Regions from separate parts of the Homo sapiens genome. Here region 2 is linked to region 1. Evidence: promoter capture Hi-C in 16 types of primary human blood cells and fetal thymus (Javierre and others, 2016). All regions are on one chromosome and are shown on one strand. The core of a region is centred on a gene start or on the middle of the fragment in contact, and the rest is flanking DNA. Distances in the headings are between cores, read along the strand shown. Region 1 holds the start of CAMSAP1 (calmodulin regulated spectrin associated protein 1). Region 2 overlaps QSOX2 (quiescin sulfhydryl oxidase 2).

Region 1 (3,453 bases), core at 216-2,715:
AGGCTGCCCATTTCCTGCAGAGAAGGGGCCACAGTTCTGACTGTGCAGGACCTGTCTGCATCCCTCCATGTCCCCACCTCCCATTTCCTACCAGTCCTTCCAGCTCCTGCGTTCTCGACTTAGTGGCCTCTACTGTGTTTCTTACACTCCAGGCTCTCGTGTCTCAGAGGCTCTGTCTGCCGTGCTCCTTGCTCAAGACAGTACTTCTGCAGATATCCTTACCCTCGACGCCCACGTCCCGCCGGTCTTTGCTCAAATAAGTGCCCTCCTCCTATGGCTTTCCTTGACCGCTCTGCCCTGTCCACCTCGTGTTCTTTTCAGACGGCTGACTCAAGAAAAAATAGACAATCTCAACAGACCTATAACAAGTGAAGAGACTCAATTAGTAACCAAAAAACTATGAATCAAATAAGTCATCAAAAAAGCCCAGGCCCAAATGGCTTCAAGGTTGAATTGAAGCCTGCACGTGGGTTGGTATGTGAATGACGGACTGCCTGGGTCCTCTGGGCACCTGGCATTTCATACATGTTCCGCCTCTGGCACGGGGTGTCTCGACCAGGTACAGACAGGCTGGGAGCCCCGCGCCGGGCGCCCGCTCCCTGGAAGCTCGACCTCTCCCTGCCGTCAAGGCGCCGGTGGGCGGCACGTGGGCCGGCTCTCCCGGGGGCAGTTCTCTATTTCGCTGGTGAGGTTCTCAGACCAAATCCTCGGAATGCAAACTCTCACGGCGTTCCCGTAATTCTCAGCCCAGCGCGGGCCCCGACGCAGGCTCCAGGGGAACGAAGTCAGCGTCCCTTCCGGGGGATGCGCCGGCGGGGCCGCACCTGTTTCTGCCTCAGGGGTCCAAACGCCCACCTTCCCTGCACCGGGACGGGGGTCTGGAGACTGGCACGTCCACCTGGTGCCCGTCTGCTGGGCTGTCGCCTGCCGAGGTCGCCGCCGGCCACACCCACGAGGTCCCCAGGGCGCCGGCGGCGAGACCTCGGCCGGCCAGGGGGCCGGGCTGTGGCTGAGGTGGGACGAGCCAGGGCCGGGGAGGAGACACGGCGCTAAAAGAGGGCAGCTGCGGGCTCGGCAGGATCCCCGCCGCCGACCCACTCCACCCACCCCGCGCCGCCCACTCCCCGCTGCCTACGCCGCGCTCCACACCGCGGGCCTTAGAGCCTGAGGAAAGCAACGGGGCAGGCGCGGACCAGGGCGGGTCCTACTGCGCCTGCGGAAGCGGGCGGGGAGGGGCGGGTCGACGCTCACTGCGCCTGCGGAAAGGGGCGGGGCAGGCACAGGCCTGCGGGTGCCACCTACTGCGCCTGCGGAAAGGGGCGGGGCGGGCGCGGGCTGGCGGGCGGTGCCTACTGCGCCTGCGGAAAGGGGCGGGGCAGGCGCGAGAAGGGAGCGGAGCTGGGGGCGGGGTCGAGGGCGGGGTGGCGGGCGGTGCCTACTGCGCCTGTGCGAGGCCCCGGCGGTGAGCGCGCTCCCGCTCCTTGGCCACCGCCTCAGCCGCTGTCGCCGCCGCCGCCGCTCACCCGGGACCGCGCACGCGCTGCCACCGCCCCCGGCCCGCTCCCGCCCCCGCGCCCGCCCCCGCCCCCGGCCCGCGCCCTCCTGCCGCCGCCTCTTTGGGCCGCGGGCTCGGCACCTCCTCCGCTCGGGCTCAGCGCCCGCAGCATGCAGCAGCCGCGGGGGCGGCGACGGCGGCGGCTGTGAGGTGAGGCGGGGGCCGCGCTCGGGCGCCCCTCCCGGCTGGCCGGCTGCGGGGCCGAGTGGTGGCTCGGGGCGCACCGGGCCCGGCGCGGCGAGGGGCGGCGGCGCCTTTGTTGCGGCCGGGCCGCCGCCTCAGCCCTTTGTCTGCAGATGGTGGACGCGAGCGGCCGCGCCGCCGCCGAGGGCTGGAGGAAGATGGAGGCCCCGCCGGACGGCGCCGCCGACCTCGTGCCCCTGGACCGCTACGACGCGGCGCGCGCCAAGATCGCCGCCAACCTGCAGTGGATCTGCGCCAAGGCCTACGGCCGAGGTGGGCCGGGTGAGGGGCGCGGGGCGGGGGCCAGGGGCGCGGGCCGGGGCCGGGGGACGCGGCCGGGGTCCGGCCGGGTCGGGGTCCGCGCGCCGCGCCTTTGTGCCGCGTCCGCACAGGGTCGGGGCTGGGCCGGCCGCCTCCGAGGTCCTGGCGGCGCCCGGGCAACGCGGAGCGTGGGGACGCGGTCACCTGGCGAGTGGGCGTCCCTGCGGCGGAGGGCGGCGTGGGTCGGGGCTTCCGCTCCTATTTCGGGAGTGCCCCCAGCCTCCCGTTGGCGGCGGCGGCGGCGGGAAGGAGCTGCCCGGTTCTGGGCGCAGGGAGGGACCATGGGGACGCGGGGCCGCCGTCTGAGGCGCCGCTTCCCGGCGCGCCGGGCATCGTCCAGTGCTGGACCTGTGATTCCGAGCCTTGCACTTGTTATGAATTTTGATGCTTACAAGCTGTCAGCTGTTGAATTCCCCAACTAGAAATTGCGTATTCCGCGCATTGTGCTTAATCATAATGATCCCCTTTGGTTAATTCCTGTTTGGAAGAACTAGGTAACCTTGTTACTCAGTCCAGTTTGTTAGGCCCTAATGTGCTTAGTGGATTAAGACGCTTCTGTTTCGTGCCCTGGGAACAGGACAGACCTAGTGATTCTCGTCAGTGGCTGACTTCTTTATTAATTTCAGGTGCTTTGTTTCAGGTACAATTAAAGGTTAATATTTCTGCAATCCTCTTTTCATTTGAAGCATTCTTAAAATATTTGCCTTTATTCTGGTGAAAAATTACCCTTTTTAGAGTAAGACTAAAGGAGACAGCCCTTCCAGAGAAGAGTTCAGTTGACCAGTTTGGAAAACGCTGAGTAGGCGTTGCCCTGTTTGACAGTGGCCTGTGCCCCAGCTAGACTCGAGTTAGTCATAAGGACAAACGCGTTTTGTAAGTTTTAGGGATTAAATAACTCGCCTTATTTCAAACTGGTTTTTGTACTGTGTAAGTAGTAATTGGGAAAGAGTTTTTCCTTTGACAGTTTTCAGTTTTACAGTTCTTGTTTACTGGCTCAGTGGAACCTTAGTTTCTGTGTTGTAATGAGGAAGAAACACTGCTACATCCAAGACTTCACATGAGTTTTTGAGAACGGAATTGGTAAGATGTAGGTATGAAACTTGAGTCAGGTGCAAAGAACAGCCCGAGAGCGGACGCCTGGGTATCTTGCAGTCACTGCCGGCTGCGTGGGCTCACCTGCCTCACACCTTGTGTTAGTCACTGTTTTGCTTTTCTTTGTATTTTGCCGCATGTGCTTACACCACGAACTAGTTTTTACACCTTTGCCAATGATGTCTCTTTCTGAGACTGGCTTTTGTTATTCCCTTATCCCACGTTACGTTCTTAGGTTCTTCTTGACTTCATCTTCACTTTTCCACATTTCCGCTGCTGTGGAGTGTCTCACTGAGGACTGT
Region 2 (3,594 bases), core at 280-2,779, 330 kb before region 1:
AGCCTCACAGGCAGCAGCCTTGGGGAGAATAGAGGGTAAATGTCTCTTTTCAGACCTGAATGCTGTCAGACTCGTTAAATGTCTCCTAGATCCAGGAAAGACCTAGAAAGGGAGGGAGATTCTCTACAGATGCAAATTTCCCTCACAAAAGACAGCTTTGCAGGACCATTTCAAATATGTCAGGGAAATAAATGTATTTGGGGGTGAAATATTTTGATTTCCTGCAGGGTGTGCTATTTGTCATGTGGTGCTGTACCCGAGTCAGGCTGGAGTTTGGTGTCGTTGCTGCTGAGGCTGTGCTGTCTGTCTGTGATCTCTGTTTCATCACGCTGGTCAGCTCTGCCTAAACTCCAAAGGGAGGTGATGTAACCAGGCGTGTCTGACCTCCCTTGCCGTCAGGGCCTGGAATTTCTTTCCTCAGGTTGCCCTGGGGTCTCCTTGGCCAAGAGGGGGTTCAATTCAGTCAGTTAGGGGACTCAGGATTTTATTTTTGGTTTACAGTCCTGAGAGCCAAGCTGTGCCCATGAGGCTTGTGGGAGGTAGAGTCCGGGTAGAAAGGGATGAAAGGCCCTTGGCACTGAGGAGTCCCCGGAGCTGTTCTAAGGCTGGGACTCTCAAAGTAGGGCCACTTAGGGCCTTGTTAGAAATGCCTGCTTCTCCACAGCCCCAGCCCAGACCTGCCAGCTCAGAACTGTCTGCTTGGCGCCTGGCTCCCTGTCTGTCATCCCTGCGTGGAGCTGTCCCACAGGGATAGGGCGCCCATTGCCCGTGGCAGTGCAGGGGTCTGGCTGCATGCAGGCATTCCCGTTGTCAACATTCTCATGTTTTCTTATGTCCCTGTTGACCTGACTCAGATCAGTCACCTGTGGCCCTGATCAATCACCTGTGACTTAGGTCATCCTGCTGATCCCCTGGGGGCACACAGGCCATGGCTTGGGCCCCCACTTCTACCTAGAGTGTCCAGCCGCCTTCTCCCACTGGTCCCCCTGGCCAGCGCCCGCCACGCCCTGCGTTCTTCATGCCTGTGGCTGCTGGAGAGGATGGTTAGGTGTGGGCTCTGCTTCCCAGGAGCCTCCAGCTGGAAGGAGCAGGACAGGCCAGGGCACCTTTGTTTTCCTCAGAAATTTGGATTGAACTTTAGCTCTTGACTGGCTTTTTCAAGGCTGGGAAAATAAATGTTTTTTCTTATAAGAAGGTGGCTTAAGAAACAAAAGTTGTACTGTTTGGTGTGACCAAGTGTCATTCTAGTGTTTGTGGAGATTTGGCTTAAGCCTGTCACTTCTAAGTACTTTGCAGAACAAAACCTTGTTGGGTTCCTGAAGATCTGCCTGGCAGTGATGGTTGCTGGGTTTGTGATGGAAGATGAGGCACCAGGGCCTGGGGCTACACTTTGGCCCGTCTGACCGGTGAGATCTCCGAAATGCCTCTGCAGTCTTGAGTGGACAAGAGGGTGCACCCTAAAGGCAGGGCCTGTGTCCCCGTGCGCCCTCTGTGGCCCTGGTGCCTGTTCCCTCCCATCTCCTTCACTTGGTCAGCCTGAGAAAACAGGGCAGGCCACCACCCACAACAGGCTGAGTCCTCCTAGACCTGCCCTCAGGAGGGCGGGAACGCTTATGTTGTAGATGATAGCACATGAGGTTGCGTGGAACAGGCCGAGTCCTCCCACACCTGTCCTCAGGAGTGCGGGGGCGCTCATGTTGCAGGTGATAGCACGTGAGGTTGCGTGGGATAGTCACGGTCACGCAGCTGAGTGACAGGCCGGGATGGGTGTCCAGGTGTGGGTGACCTGGAGCCATGGCAGTTCATTCCTGTGTCTTTGTAGAGGACAGGTGGGGGTTGGGAGCTGGACACATCCGACATCTCTTGAAGGAAGGGTAGGGCATTCTGTGATTGCTGCCAGCTCCTCTGTCCCACTTGGTCTGGTTTCTTGTCTACTCGACTAGGCTGCAGGCTTCTTGGAGATGAATTAGAACTTGGTGTTCCCCACAGGCTCATTGTCCGTTTACTGGAAAAAGAAACAATAAGGGCCAGAGGGAGGGGGACATGCAGGTGTCAGCGGGCATTTGGCGGGGCTGACGGCCCGTGAGAGCTGCCAGGTGCTCACTGGACTCGGGAGGATGGAGAGGGTGGAAGGAGGAAGAGTTGGGCAGTGGAGGCCTCCTGTCTCCTTACGGGCCCAGAAATGGCTTAATGTAGCCCCGCTGTGGCGACCACATGAGTATTTTACAGAAAGGATGGTGCATCGGAGCAGCCGGGCTCCCCGCTGGCCTCCCCAGTGGCTGTGGTTGGTGCGTCTGAGACTACACCGAGAGACCCAGGCCACTTACTTGTTGTTGAAGTAAGACGGGATGGTTTGCTAAGAGGGCCTTACAGCCACGTCCAGGGAGCCGTCTCCGCTGTGTCATGCCGGTCGTCGTGCCATGGGGTGACCCAGGTCATAAGCACTGCTTGGGCTTCCCTGACAGAGGACGGGCTGAGGGACTGTCATTCCCTACCAACAGATAAACAGCATTGGAATTGCTGTCACCTCGGAGCACCCTTCGAGGCTGAAGAACGTGTAGTTTTGGTTTACCAGAATTGAGTTAAATGCTGGGGATCAAGAGTCCATGGGACCCAGCCCTGCCCTCAGTCCCCAGATGAGGCGACCGTAGCGTGTGCCCGGGTTTTCTCAGACCAGCCCTTGGCAACTTCTAGGTGATTTGTGTTAGGCTCTCCTGGTCGCTAGGTGGGTTTCATTTCTACCCAGGCCTGTTATTCCAAACTTGTGCCTTGAACTTGGAGCTTAGCTAAGAAGACCTTTGCTCAGCCAAGAGGGGGCTCCACCCAGAGAGGGTCTTCTCCAGGGACTGGTATGCGGAGTTCGAGACCCCAGCATGGCCCTGACTCAGGAAGGAGAGGCTGCAGTGGACCTCTGTCCCTTAAACACAGCTCCCTAGTTGCCTTTCAACTTGGGAGATTGTTTTATCTTTACTGTAATCATTTTCTAGAACGATTTGATACTGGACTATACATTAGACTTCTGTAGACTTTTTCATTAGAACGTGACAAGCAGTAAAGAGTTAACCTTGTTAGATTCAGTATTAGAGTTATTTGACAAGCACATTTGAAATAAATGTTAATCTACTATATATAGAAGCTTAATTATTTCCCAAGTATTTTTAAGACTGGAGTCCTAAAATAGCCAGGCTCTTGAGCAGAAGTGAGAATAGGCCTGCGGTCTCATTTCTGCCTCCCTTTGGAACCCCCTGGCTGTGCTGGGTTGGGCACCCCCGCCCCTGCCACACCCTGTGCCTCTCAGCTGGCTCTAACCCCAGAGGCCCAATGAAAGCAGGCCATTTGCATTCTGCTTTAGAGGTTCAGAGCTAGACAGGTGGGCAGAGCAGGAGAAGGGGAGGGTACCCGTTGAATGAGGCCAGTGCCCTGAAGCTAAGCCTTTTACGTGTTTTGTATTTGATTTGATAATATGGACTACCATATCTTTTGTGTTGCCATGAATACCGTCCATCTGCCGAGTCCTTGCCGGTACTCCTGGCGCCTGTTCAGCTGCTGAGGGAGGCCTGTGTAACTGAAATTCTCCCTCATCTGCTCGGCCTT

What was found. The method cuts DNA at HindIII sites, captures the fragments that hold promoters and counts their contacts. A CHiCAGO score of 5 or more calls a contact.
Region 2: a contact is called between a fragment that was not itself captured here and the fragment with the promoter of CAMSAP1 in region 1, in 8 of 17 cell types (neutrophils, naive CD4 T cells, non-activated CD4 T cells and 5 more). The highest score is 9.2, in neutrophils.

What each region holds. Positions count from the first base shown.
Region 1 is chr9:135,905,558-135,909,010 of GRCh38, reverse strand. CAMSAP1 (calmodulin regulated spectrin associated protein 1) reads left to right here and starts at 1,465. Exons shown (of 17, transcript NM_015447.4): 1 at 1,465-2,011. The coding sequence starts at 1,852. It overlaps CAMSAP1-DT (CAMSAP1 divergent transcript), which reads right to left and starts at 1,178. Exons shown (of 2, transcript XR_007061860.1): 1 at 92-1,178. RefSeq lists silencers at 897-1,576, 1,617-1,726, 1,807-1,876, 2,277-2,326 and an enhancer at 2,973-3,453. The HindIII fragment of the contact is 15,122 bases long and covers 1-3,453 here.
Region 2 is chr9:136,239,787-136,243,380 of GRCh38, reverse strand. The region is part of intron 1 of QSOX2 (quiescin sulfhydryl oxidase 2); the gene reads left to right. Among named protein-coding and RNA genes, the nearest start is that of QSOX2, 4.2 kb to the left of the region's middle. RefSeq lists a silencer at 3,295-3,424. The HindIII fragment of the contact is 3,219 bases long and covers 1-3,138 here.